2 separate regions of the Homo sapiens genome follow, and region 2 is linked to region 1. The links are contacts of gene promoters, found by promoter capture Hi-C in human tissues and cell types (Jung and others, 2019). All regions are on one chromosome and are shown on one strand. Each heading gives the region's core, a stretch centred on a gene start or on the middle of the fragment in contact. The rest is flanking DNA. Distances are from core to core; before and after follow the strand shown. Region 1 holds the start of TBC1D9 (TBC1 domain family member 9). Region 2 overlaps RNF150 (ring finger protein 150).

Region 1 (7,084 bases), core at 3,595-6,094:
AACACAATAAAATATTAACCATAAAGGAAATGGTATTTAAAAGGAAATGGTATCTAAACAGGACTTAAGGAATTTTAAAAATTAAGAATCTCTGTTCATTCTTTACAGAGTAAATAGGTAAGGAACAAATGAAGATTTTGCCACACATGTAACAGTAGGCTTATACCCAGAACATATTTTTTAAATTTCTACAAGTTAGTAAGAAAAAAGACAATCCGGTTGAAAAATGGACAAGAGACTTGAACAATCATATCTCAAAATATTCCAAATGGCTAATAAACATATGGAAAAATGCTCAACTTCATCAGTCAGGAAAAAGCAAATTAACCCTGCAATGTGATATTACTCCAAAACCACAACAATGGCTAAAATTACAAAGACTGACAGTGTTGACAAGGATATGTGATGGAACAAGGGGAACTTCCATATGCTGCTGGTGGGAGTATATTGGTACAACTACTTTGGAAAACTGGTATCATCTACTGAAATTGATAATACATTATGAGCTAGCAATTCCTCTCCTGTTTATAGAGCAAATAGAAACGTATGCCCACAGGCACCAAGAAACATGCCCCAAAATGACCATAGCCACATTATCCATAATGCCCCCAAATGAACCATCCAATGGGCCACCAACAATACAGTTGATAAAGAGATGAATAAATTGTGGTATACTCATATCATAGTTTTCTACACAGAACAGAAAAATGAATGAATTACAACCAACAGCAACAAAATGAATATCACATACACAAGGCTGAGCAAAAGAATCCAGACACAAATGAATATATACTCTATAATTCCATTTCATTTCTTGCTTAAAAAAAAAAGCAAAACCAAAATATAGTGTTTAGGGATATGTTCTTTGGAAAAACTACAAAGAAAATCAAGGAAGTGTTTACAAAAAAGCATGAGGATAGTCTTTATCTTTGGGGGAGGTGACAATGATTGGCTGAGAATCACAAGGGGGCTTTTGGCACATTAGCAGTGTTCTATATTTTTTATCCTGGTGTTCTATTTTTTTTTATCCTGGTGTTGGTTGCCAAGTGTTCACATTGTAGTAGATCACTGCACTTTGCATCTGATTTCTGTAATTTTATGTATATGTATGAAATCTCAGTCAAAGGGGGTTAAATAAATCAATCAAATGCATCCACAATGGAAGACTTCATTGCACCAATGCCTATACATATTGCTTGGAATCAGGAACCTAGAATATCTTAATTTTTAAAAAATGTTAAGTGTCCTCAACTTTGACCCACTGTTTTTTATAGCTTTCTGTGCTAATCTTTCCAAGCTCCCTGATGACCACACTTTGAGACCACTTCTGGCCAGTTCACACTGGGCAAGTTTCCCTACTCATCTGTCATCTATTTGCTGGGTGTACACATGTACACTGATCCAGATAATGCATATTATGTAAAGGTCCTGAGATCTTCCAGAAAATCTCCAACAGCTGATATCTAACACTTACTCTTCCCTCCTCTCCTCACAGGCAGATCTTTTTCTTTCTTCAGTTCTAAGCTCAAGCGTCACTTCCTCAAGGAATCTTTCCTTTGCCTCCACCTCCAAGACCCCATCACTTAACTGGGACTAACCAACATCATGTTCCTCTTCTTATGATATTTGTTCTGATCATTCTCAGTTTGCCCCCATCCATTCCTGGGAGGCTGATCCCAAGAAACTACATTACCAGGACTCTTTCCAGCTAGATTCTTTTTTTTTTTTCCTTTTCTAGCGATAAGGTCTCACCATGTTGCCCAGTCCGGATTTGAATGCCTAGGCTCAAACCATCCTCCAGCCTCAGCCTCCCCAGCAGCTGGGACTACAGGCATACACCACCATGCCCAGTTCCTTAGCTGGCTTCTATTGGGTTCCAGGGATGGGAGGCAGTGGCAGAAGCTGGGAGGGTGGGAGAAGAGAGAAGTCAGGGCATGTACTCCCCACTCCCTTTCTGCTATTGTCTATGTTTTTACAAGTAGCTGCTTCTCTCCAGGCTCAAGTTCCTCTTCCCTGGCTCCAGCTCTCACGGACTCCTGAGAGTCCTGCCTCTGGTTTGCCTTACACCAGTTCAAATAACCATGCCTCTATTTTTCGAAGTTGTCTTTTCACTCATCTCTCTTCATTTGGATTCTGTTTTCTGCTGGGACTCTGTAGAGTGGCAATTTTACTTTAATTTATGTGATTATTTCATCAATACCTGTCTTCTACTAGGCTTGAGCTTCACAACATTAGCACTTCTAGAAGTTGCCAACAAATATTTGTTAAATGATTTAGTGAGTTAGTGAATGAATGAACTTACATTAGAATCAGAATATACTACACATTGTGTAACATTTCTAAAATGTTCCTGCTACATTTGACATGGCACCAAGGTATTAGACCAAACATTTTACCTCTCTTGCTTGAAAATAGCCTTTGTTGTCATAAATACTTTTACTCATGACAATGATTTCAATTATTCCATTAATAAGTGCAATCACTGTGATTTCTCAATTTACAAGATGTAATTTTACCTAAGTGAAAGAAGTCATTGATGACAAGATGAGATTTCAAGTGGACCGTAGTCAGTTATAGCTCTAAGAACCAGTAGGAACACAATACAAATGTTAAGCAGAAAAAGAAGGCTCTGAATCCCTGAATTTTTCACATCCTATTACAAATGACACAGGTAAATGAATACTTAATGCTTACAAGGTGTAGGAGGGTTAATTGCAGAAGGAAATGTTCTCTTTTTACTACAATAAATTATCTACTCTGTGTTGTTGTCCTAGGCTTAAAGGACTACATGGGCCGGGTGAGGTGGCTCACGCCTTTAATCCCAGCACTTCGGGAGGCCAAAGTGGGCGGATTATTTGAGATCAGGAGTTCAAGACCAGCCTGGCCAACATGGTGAAACCCCATCTATTAAAAATACAAAAAAAATTAGCCGGGCGGGTTGGTGCATGCCTGTAGTCCCAGCTACTCAGGAGGCTGAGGCAGGAGAATCACTTGAACCCAGGAGAAGGAGGTTGCAGTGAGCCGAGATCACGCCACTGCACTCCAGCCTGGGCGACAAAGCAGGACTCTGTCTCAAAAAAAAAAAAAAAAAAAAAAAAAAAAAGGACAATGTGGGCTGATTCCAATATTAGATATGTAAATTACATATTAACATTTAGAGTTAGATAACTTCTACAAAATGACCTGGAAAATCCTGGTATCAGATCACTAGTAAGTATTTCCAGAATGGGGTCTGGAGCTCTGCAGATTTATCTTTTCTGGTAGAATCAAGATCCTTCAAACATACCAGTATACATTGTACCACATGACACCTGAATTTTAATCTTAAGAAAATTAGTTTATAAATATAATCATAAGTAAATACATATATCAAGAATCTTTATTTCATAGCACAGCATTTGAAAGCAACAATTTACCTATTGTGCAAACTCCAGGTGATATATGAGGTTGATATAAGCTCAACTCTGAGGAGGGTCAAAGTTCATCTCTTTTTTGCAGTCTCCTTTCTAGTGAAACCTCTACTATTTCTTCTGCTAACTTTTTCACTGTAAAAAGTATTCCAGTTCTGTTCATTCTAAATAACACAGAGATGGAGAAGGTCCAATTTCTCTAGTATGGTATGAGTTCGAGATTATTTCTAATATGGCACTACTTTGGATATGGGTCTGACTGATCTTATTATCCTGAATGATATGACATGGCTTCAGCAACAATTACAATAATACCTTGAAGGGAGGGGGTTTAGGGAAGAAGTGATTGAGCAAAAATAGTTAAAATGCAGTTATACAGCCAATTATTTTTACAACTAGAACCAGACAATTTGCTTTGCTTTATGTCTAATTAGGTGAAACAAAAAAATTCCTGTTTCCGTATTCATTCTCTTCGGTCATAACTCATATAGGAAATGACCACATCAGTTCCTTACTTATCGCTTCCCTGGAAACAAAAGAGCATTTTATACCTGATCCTGCTGTTGCCAGTAAAGAAAGTGGAGCAAAAATTAACCTTCTTCCATCCCTCTTTTCCATTTGGAAAACAATATTTTTAAGGGGGGGAGGGGAAGGGAATGATGCATTCAATATATAGGGGATAATACATTCCCTCCGCCCCAGACTCACTCTTTCCCATTCTCCTCAACATATCCACTTAAAGAGCGCTCAGTACGCTGAGGGCCCCAAGCCTGACAGAGTCAAAAAAAGAAGCATCTCTGCCCAACCTGAACATCACGACTCTCGATGCCTCGCATACAACGAGGCAGGGCGGGTCGCCCAGCCCCAGGGGACCGGGCGGCGTCTCCCGAGCCTGCAGCCCAGGCCGCGGGCGGCGCCGCAGCGCTCCCGGCTCCCCTCCTGCAGGGATCGGCCACGGTCCTTACCCGCCAGTCCGCCGCCGCCGCCTCCATCGCCGGCGTGGCCCTTCCTCCGCTGCAGGATGAAGTATGGGTTGGCCCTCTCGGTGATCCACAGCGCGTTGGCCAGCAACACCTCCTCCGGGTTCACCCACATGGTCCTGGCTGCCGCGGGCGGGCGCACAATGGGCCCGTGGGTCCAGTCCTGCACCCACCACCGCGACAGGCGCGCACTCCTGGGCACACGCGCGCCCGCCCGCCCGTCCGCTAGGTGCGGCGGCGGCGGCGGCAGGCGACTTCAGGGGGTGGCCCGCGGCGTCCGGGCCACAACAAAGCCCCAGCAGGCGGCCCGGGAGGACGGTGAGGACGCGGGCGCGGCAAGCAGCATCCTCCCCGCGGCGTCGCCGCCCCGCGAGAGCCCGCGGCCGCAGACGCCCGGCCTGGCACTCTGCAGCCCGGCTCCCGGCCCACGGCGGCGGGAGGAGCGGGAGGAGGAGGAAGAGGAGGAGGAAGGGAGCGGGAGGAGGAGGAAGTGGTATAGCTCAGTCCCGGGATCCGGCTCAGCGCCAGGCAGGGCTAAGGGCCACCCGAGCGGATTCGGCCCCGCGGTCAGGGCCAAGCTGGGCTCCGGCGCTGCTGCTCCCGCGGCGCCGACTGGAGCTCCAGAGCCCCTCCCGTCTCTACCTGCTCGAGCTCCCGAAGTCGCCGCGCCTTAACGCGCCGTGTCGGGGCCGCAGGCGCCACTAGGGAAGCCCAGCTCCCCGCTGGAAGGACGCTCCGGACACTGCGAATGAATGACGACAACGCGGCTCACTTGGAGCGGGTCCGGGTTTGTGCGGACTCGGTACCACCGCGGGCTCCGCGCGCCGAGCTGAGCAGCTGTGGCTGGCTTCGGGGGAACCTTCGGGGGAAGCTCCTGGGGACCGTGTGCCAAGCACTGGGCCCGACGCCCATCCCAGCAGGGAGGACGCCGCCAGCCTGCGTGGGTGCGTGTGTGCTGTTTGTGTTTAAGGTTGACGCTCTATGGGATAGCGCCACCCCTTTTCCCAGGAAAAGTGTTTCAAGGTTCCAGACCTGGAGCTCGGTTAGAGACCCGGGGTCGGAAGCCAACGCAGCCAATGGTCGTCGATGTTTTTGTTTCCTGCATCCCCAGGGCAAGTCATGCGCTAAACTTGTCACCGCTTGTGACCCCTCCCCCCTCTCCATTCCATTGTAATTAAAGTGGCCTAGCTAAGTGCATTACATCACTTCTTTCCTTGACCTGTAGGGCGTGAGCAATAGAGAAGTTGGAAGCGGCCCAAAAGCTTAGACCAACTAATTCACACCACAGCTGTTCCTATATCGCATTTGGGGCTTCGAAAACTGGGCATGGCAGAATTTTAAAATTTATCCACTCTTGGTAGATGGATTTTTTTTTTAATCAGTGAAACCAGAAACACACAAACCAGGGCAGCTTTATCCCTAGACAGTTTCAGTTTCCCCAAATACTTCGAGCTTCCAGTGGTGATCACAGCCCATCTGCCTACATATCTGATGACCATTTTTTTTTCCTCCCGCCCAGGAGATCTGGAGGATAGTTCAGCCAAAAAAAAAAAAAAAAAAAAAAAAAAAAAAGTTCCTCTTCCCAAATGATGGGAATTTAGCAGACTCTGCTTTGTTGTGGATGCTGGGCAATCCTAGGGACTTTTCCCTTTCCAAATGAGCAGAGATTCAAATGAAACCTTCTTGTGTGGGCTTCAAAATTGTGACTTTTGTAGCTCCGACTTGAATTGTTGAATTCCTTCAATTAGTCGAATGAGCAAATCACCAGCCATTCTAATGAGACTGCCATTTCATCTGTTCGCTTCCTACCGCTTGGGCTCTCAAGGAATGGAAGTTTCCCTTGATGTTACCACACAGACTGATCTGCTTCTTCCAGGCATCAGTGGAAACCTCATGTATTTAACACAGACTCAAAAAACTCATTTGGCACTTTTGGTCACAGTGCAGTGCCTTCAGTCACAAAATCTGCAAATAAAAAGCAAACAATAAGATTATAAGTCATACATATGCAAAAATTATATTAATATATCATGTAACTTTTATATTTTTGAAGTGTTTCCATAGGTATTCTTTTACTTGATATAATTGGTATTTTTAAAAACTCTAAGTGCCTTAATACCATGTTGGGGTTTGGAAAATGATACCACAAAGCATGGTGCTTTGGCATGCTGAGTACTTTGAACTAAAGGAGATTGAAAGGCCTCAGAAGCAGTTTCTCTCTGACCTCCTTCTGCCCTCCTGTCTCCCACCTCTCTTTCTCCCCCAAAGTGAGTCATGGAAACTAAAGGCAGGTCATAGAAACTAAAACCCCTCTTCCCAAAGGAAGCTACAAAACCTAGAAATATTACCATTCCTCACTCTTCTGTGTAAGAGCAGACATAAAGAATAGAGAAATAAAGAAATTATCTACCCTACCTTGTTGGATAGTAGGTCCCCTTTCCAAAGGAGTCCTGCTCTAAACCCAGGAGGAGGGAAAGCTATACGGAGAGGCCAAGAAGAATCTGAACAGACAGACTGGGTCTGTTCTCAGTCTATTACCATTGGATCTTACCCTTTTGTCCAACCACATCTACATGGCTGCCCACTCTTCATTGAACCTAAGCACAAAAATGGACAGAGCGAGACTCTCTCAAAAAAATAAACAGGCTGGGCATGGTGGCTCATGCCTGCAACCCCAGCATTTTGGTAGGCAGA
Region 2 (6,086 bases), core at 3,371-5,870, 140 kb after region 1:
TAAATGCTACCTAAATAGTTATTGTACTGTAGATTTTATTGGTACTATTTTCTACTGTTGGATTGAGATTTTTTTGTCCTGAATATTTTTGATATGCAGTTGGATGGAGGGACACCTATATAGCAATGTACGAGGGCAGATGACTAATAGTGTAATGAATCTGTTGAAGTTGTTGAACCCCCTCATTTACTTAACTAATTTGATCTATAGTTCTTTTGCTAATCTGATCTATGTTTCCTGAAAAGCTAAAACAAAACAAGCATCTGATGGCTAAAATTAATTCTGCCAAATGCCTCCGCTTGTAGTGATGCAACAACAAGGGAGGGGAAGGACCTATACTTCACCAGCCTGTGCTGGCTGCTTTTCATGTATTTATTAACTTAAAAAACCACGAGTTTAAGCTGATCTCTTTATTACATTTGAACTGTACACAAATATTGGGTTTGAAAAAGACTTTTGTTAAAAACCCAAAGGCAAAGGTGTGGCCAATTCAGGACTTCCATACAATGGCAATTTTGTATCCTGCTAACTCTGTCTCCAGAAAGTGGGTTAGGGAGTCTGGGTGACTTCTTGGCTTCGCAGGCTCCTTCCCCCTGGGGAGGGATGTCGGCGACTTCTTGGCCTCACAAGTTCCTTCCCCCTGGGGAGGGATGTAGCCAAACTGTACCCTAGAGTAAAAGGTCTGTGGAGGCTGGTGTAGTGTGGCTCATGCCTGTAATCCCAGCACTTGGGAGGCCCAAGCAGGAGGATCGCTTGAGGCCAGGAGTTTGGGACCAGCCTGGGCAACATAGTGAGACCCCATCTCTTAAAAAAAAAATAAGCTAAAAGATTAGCTGAGTGTGGTGGTGTGTACCTGTAGTCCCAGCTACTCAGGAGCTTGAGGTAAGAGGATTGCTTGAGCCAAAAGATTGAGGCTGCAGTGAGCCATGATTGCACCATTGCAATCCAGCCTGGGAGATGGAGTGAGATCCATCTCTTAAAAGAAAAAAAAAGGTCTGAGGGTAGTGTTGCCACCATGACCACCCCCCGGCCTTTCTCCAAAGAACACTTTTATTCACAATATTCCAGGCATGTGATTAACACCACTGCCTTATTTCATTATTTAAATATTCCACCCATGGATGTTTTTTCTCCTAACTAGAGCAGACTGTAATTTCTCAGGGGTCAGGGGCTTATTTTGCAAGACTGCATCTCTAATGCTATAGAAATAAAAGAAATGCAAAAGTTATCACTTGAATGTACTGAATAAATAAATGGGAAAATCTGAAGATATCATGTTGATTTTTTGAAAGGATAAAACACTGGGGAAGGGGACTTATGCTCTTTTGATATCAATGCTATGTGGAATACATCATGCTAAGGAATCAAGGCAAAACCACAGAGTAGGCTAAGAGAAACAAGACCTAGACTGAGCAGCGAGCTCAAGTGTTTCATTTATTATGGGACAGGAATCTCATTCCTGCTCTTTCCAACTCCACCTTATTAGGTACCTTTTAAGATCATTTTCTGTTTCCTTGTTTCTCTTTTAGAACCATGCTCAGCACCTCCCTAAGAAGAGGGGCCACCTGTGTGGAATGGTTCCTGAAGCTGGCAGTGGTGGGGGTGTGAATAAGCCAGTTGTTCTGGCGGGGGCTTGTGAAGCTTAAAAATGAAGAATTGAGAAGAACTGAAAAGGTATCGTTTAGAGTTGGATTATCATGAGTGACTAAACATGTACACAATAAACACAGAATTAGGAAAATTCTTAAAATTTTAAAACTGAAAAACTAGCAATTTTCTAGTATTAGGAATGCAAAATCTAAGACAGAGGCATTTCATCCTAATATTCTCCAATATATGTACAAAAGGCCAAATTCCCTAAACAAGTCCATAGGGAGTTCCTGGAATTTAACATGGGGGTTAAGGTTTTAGTATTTCCTCCACAAGCTGAAGAGTGATGGTTCCTTTCTCTGTCTCTTTCTAAACTCAGGAAAGCTATGCAAATCCCTTATGTAGACAAAGCTTTTAGTAGATCTGGCAAATGAGATCTGTTCTTAAGAAACAGCACTTGGCAAAGTAACTGCTATTTTGTACACATCTGTTTTACATCTGTTCAAACCTAAATTCCTTCAGAGGAGGGGCAATGTCATCCTAGCTCAAAATAGGCATTAATAAATCTTATGCTAAATCACCAACATCTTTTGGTAAAATAGCTGTGTTTAATTAATGAAAGACTTCCAGATTAACTTCTGATGAGGTCTTCTAGGTATCTTCAGAGTGTTTTATGATGTTTTCTCTCCCTAGTTATTGTTAATATATTCTGTGACCTTTCCACAACAGAAAGTCATTTTAACATGTGGCTCACGTAGTTTCTGAATTTTTCTTTCTTTTTAAAGGATCATGCTGCTGCTTTTTGGGATGATTACTGATGTTTATAGTGAGCCCCATCCCCCACTTTTTAAACTCCATAAATATTTAAGACAAATAACCCTAAATATTTGTCCATGATAGAGATCCTGGGTCCCCTCCTTTGATTGGTGCATGCTTTGTTTAACATTTTGCCAGTGCTTCCCAGTAGCAAACAATCAATGCACATTTTGAACTTGTATTCTTAAAAAATCTGCAGCCACAAACATGGCCCATGTCCTAAATAGTAGGTACTGCTGAATAGATCTTCAATGTTTATTTTTGTCCGGCCTGCAAATATTTTATATTATTTTGCCATGAAGAAAGCTGCCTGAGACTATGTCGGCAGTTTCCTGTAACGTAGATGCCTTGTCAATAATGTAAGTATGGTGCAGAGTGAACAAATCCATAAATCTCGAAGTCACAAATAACTTGCTCATCTGGGGCTGAGCTGCCTGAGTCTCCATGGATACCAAGGGAGCATCTTCAATTCAGGGAACTCTCAGGGAGAGCAGACTCTTTCTTGCCCCAGGAATCTGCAAGCCTGGCAAAAAGAAGTGAGGGTCCTTGAGAACATTACCTTTGTGGATCCTGTTCATTAACCCACTAGAGACTAAGTCCCAGGTCCCCTTTGGTTTTCTCCCACTCCCTTTAAGAGAAAATCTCCTGGAGAGGGTCAGGGGGCACAGGTAGCATGAGGGCTAATTGGGATTTCTGAGACTGTTTGAACATTTTTCCTTCAAAGCTTTGATGGGAATTCCAGCATCATAAGTGAGTATATTTTTCTATTTTATGGTTATATTTTTAGAGACAGGGTTTCTCTAAGGGGAAGCTGAATATTTAGGCACTGAGACAGCCCTGGAAGTAGAAAATGGGCATATTATAAGCATAGCTATGCATCAATGTAAGTCAAAGTCCCCACAATATGCCTTGGAAGCAAAAAACATATGTCTCTGTAGGAAATTAGCCTATATACATTATAAGAGCAAAGCTATGGTTCCATATGTTCCATAACTGTAATTGTTCATCAAGATAGGAAAATAAAAACAAAGAAAAATAGAGTTCCTACCATTATTACCTCCTGCCAATTATCAGCTCCCAGAACACATTGTCTATACTCTTAACTTTGGTGGCAGATCATTCTGCTTAGCAGTTACCAACTCTTAGTTCTGTGTTGCAGATCTTAGCTGCAATGCACCCAAAGAAACTATGAAATGTAGCCTTGTTGTCTTATCCTTTTTCTTATGGTAGTTAATTTTATGACACCAAAGAATTCTTCCCTCAGTAAAATTATGCATCTGAGAAAACCAATGGTAATTCTTTCAAAACTTATCTTTTGATCTGCTCATTCAAGGACTTATTTCAGTATCTAAGATTTTTAAAGAATTTTTTTTCTGCGAAGGACATGAACAGACACTTCTCAAAAGAAGACATTTATGCAGCCAAAAAACACATGAAGAAATGCTCATCATCACTGGCCATCAGAGAAATGCAAATCAAAACCACTATGAGATATCATCTCACACCAGTTAGAATGGCAATCATTAAAAAGTCAGGAAACAACAGGTGCTGGAGAGGATGTGGAGAAACAGGAACACTTTTACACTGTTGGTGGGACTGTAAACTAGTTCAACCATTGTGGAAGTCAGTGTGGCGATTCCTCAGGGATCTAGAACTAGAAATACCATTTGACCCAGCCATCCCATTACTGGGTATATACCCAAAGGACTATAAATCATGCTGCTATAAAGACACATGCACACGTATGTTTATTGCGGCACTATTCACAATAGCAAAGACTTGGAACCAACCCAAATGTCCAACAATGATAGACTGGATTAAGAAAATGTGGCACATATACACCATGGAATACTATGCAGCCATAAAAAATGATGAGTTCATATCCTTTGTAGGGACATGGATGAAATTGGAAACCATCATTCTCAGTAAACTATCGCAAGAACAAAAAACCAAACACCGCATATTCTCACTCATAGGTGGGAATTGAACAATGAGATCACATGGACACAGGAAGGGGAATATCACACTCTGGGGACTGTGGTGGGGTCGGGGGAGGGGGGAGGGATAGCATTGGGAGATATACCTAATGCTAGATGACACATTAGTGGGTGCAGCGCACCAGCATGGCACATGTATACATATGTAACTAACCTGCACAATGTGCACATGTACCCTAAAACTTAGAGTATAATAAAAAAAAAAAAACAAAAAAACAAACAAACAAACAAAAAAAAATAATTTTTTTTCTTTAAAAAAGAAAGGAAGCACTTCCTTTTTCTAGTAGATGATTCTAGAATTACGGCTTATGCTAAAAATGTAAGAGAATGCCTGCACCACCGTGTGTAGGTCACACATCAGGTCGGGGATGTTTCATGAGCAAAGAAGCCATTATTATAATAATCAAAAGGCAGCAGACTTCCCCAGATAGCAATGTTGGCTGCTAGGATTAAACCTCCATCAAGATCACAAGTAAGGCATGACTAAGTAAAAACCTACTTGTATTTTCTATCATTGTATTTTGGGATTTGGACCAGGGCTGTAAGGATCCAGTGGTCATCTTTATTGCATGTATCAACACACAGCACAGGTCTCTTAAGAAGGATCCTCCAAGGATCAAGCACACACAATTGCACTTATGTGTTCAGTGGGGAGATTCTCAAGGCAGAGTAAACAAGAAATAGGTAAAGTTAGTTTGACTGAAGAGAATGTTCTACCTCCAGTACCCCTGCATACAATTAATATGAGAAAATTTCAAGACGCTGCAGGGATAAGATACCACTTAGAATGTGTGCATTGTCTTGGGTTCTGTTTTCCTCGGGCAGGCACTCTGGGGTTGCTGGGCATACGTTTTGAAACTCTGGCTTTAGAACGAATTGCTCAGGAAGCCTGATAGAAGTGACAATTCTCTGCCTACCCCTAGAAACTGTGATTGAGTAGATCTGGGGAGGGGCCTATGGATCTGCACTCCAACTACAGCCCAGGTGGGTGTTCAGACCATAGCTAGAAACTGGTTTGAGAAACTGGAGAAAGAATCTGGGCTTTGATGAGAGTGACAAGAGTTTTCCCTCCAGCCCTGCCATTTACTCCATGTGTGACCTCTGACATGGTTCCTAGACTGCTCTCTAATTCAGTTTCTTAGATATAAAAGAGTGATAATTGTAAAGGTTAAATAAAATATGTAAAGCTCTCTAAGATTCTTGGCACAAAGTTTACTAGTGTTTGAGCCCCTTCACCTTCTCTTCTATACAGTAACATTTTTTTTGAATGCTTATTATGGACCAGGTACTTTTCTAAGGATTATTGCATTACATTTAATCCCAGAGGTAGGTATTCTCTAAATTACCTCCATTTTACAGATGAGAACTAGAGGTACAGAGAGGTTGAGCTATTTGTCCAAAGTTACACAGATAGCAGGTGGCAGGGTTGGGCCTTGACCTAGCTTTACTACCAAGAACGTACATTATTGTCAGGGACATAAATTAGGGATGGGAAATTTCAATACCTCTCTCTGCTGTCTAACAAAGACCTACAGTTTACTTACAGTGCCTTTACTATCTGATCATGTTCCTTGATGCCCCACCAGATGAAGAGACCTACTACCACTCAGTATGGATGGACACATACAATTTTACCTGGCCCCAAAGGTGTTGTTCTATCATAGGGCTTGGATGCTAGGGATA

What was found. The method cuts DNA at HindIII sites, captures the fragments that hold promoters and counts their contacts. A contact is called where the count stands out against the background at its distance.
Region 2: a contact is called between a fragment that was not itself captured here and the fragment with the promoter of TBC1D9 in region 1, in 1 of the 25 tissues and cell types used here (liver).

What each region holds. Positions count from the first base shown.
Region 1 is chr4:140,751,541-140,758,624 of GRCh38, forward strand. It overlaps TBC1D9 (TBC1 domain family member 9), which reads right to left and starts at 4,845. Exons shown (of 21, transcript NM_015130.3): 1 at 4,376-4,845. The coding sequence starts at 4,505. RefSeq lists a silencer at 4,198-4,887 and enhancers at 4,543-5,185, 5,186-5,827, 5,318-5,367. The HindIII fragment of the contact is 15,545 bases long and covers 1-6,912 here.
Region 2 is chr4:140,892,090-140,898,175 of GRCh38, forward strand. The region is part of intron 6 of RNF150 (ring finger protein 150); the gene reads right to left. Among named protein-coding and RNA genes, the nearest start is that of TBC1D9, 140 kb to the left of the region's middle. The HindIII fragment of the contact is 5,598 bases long and covers 1,822-6,086 here.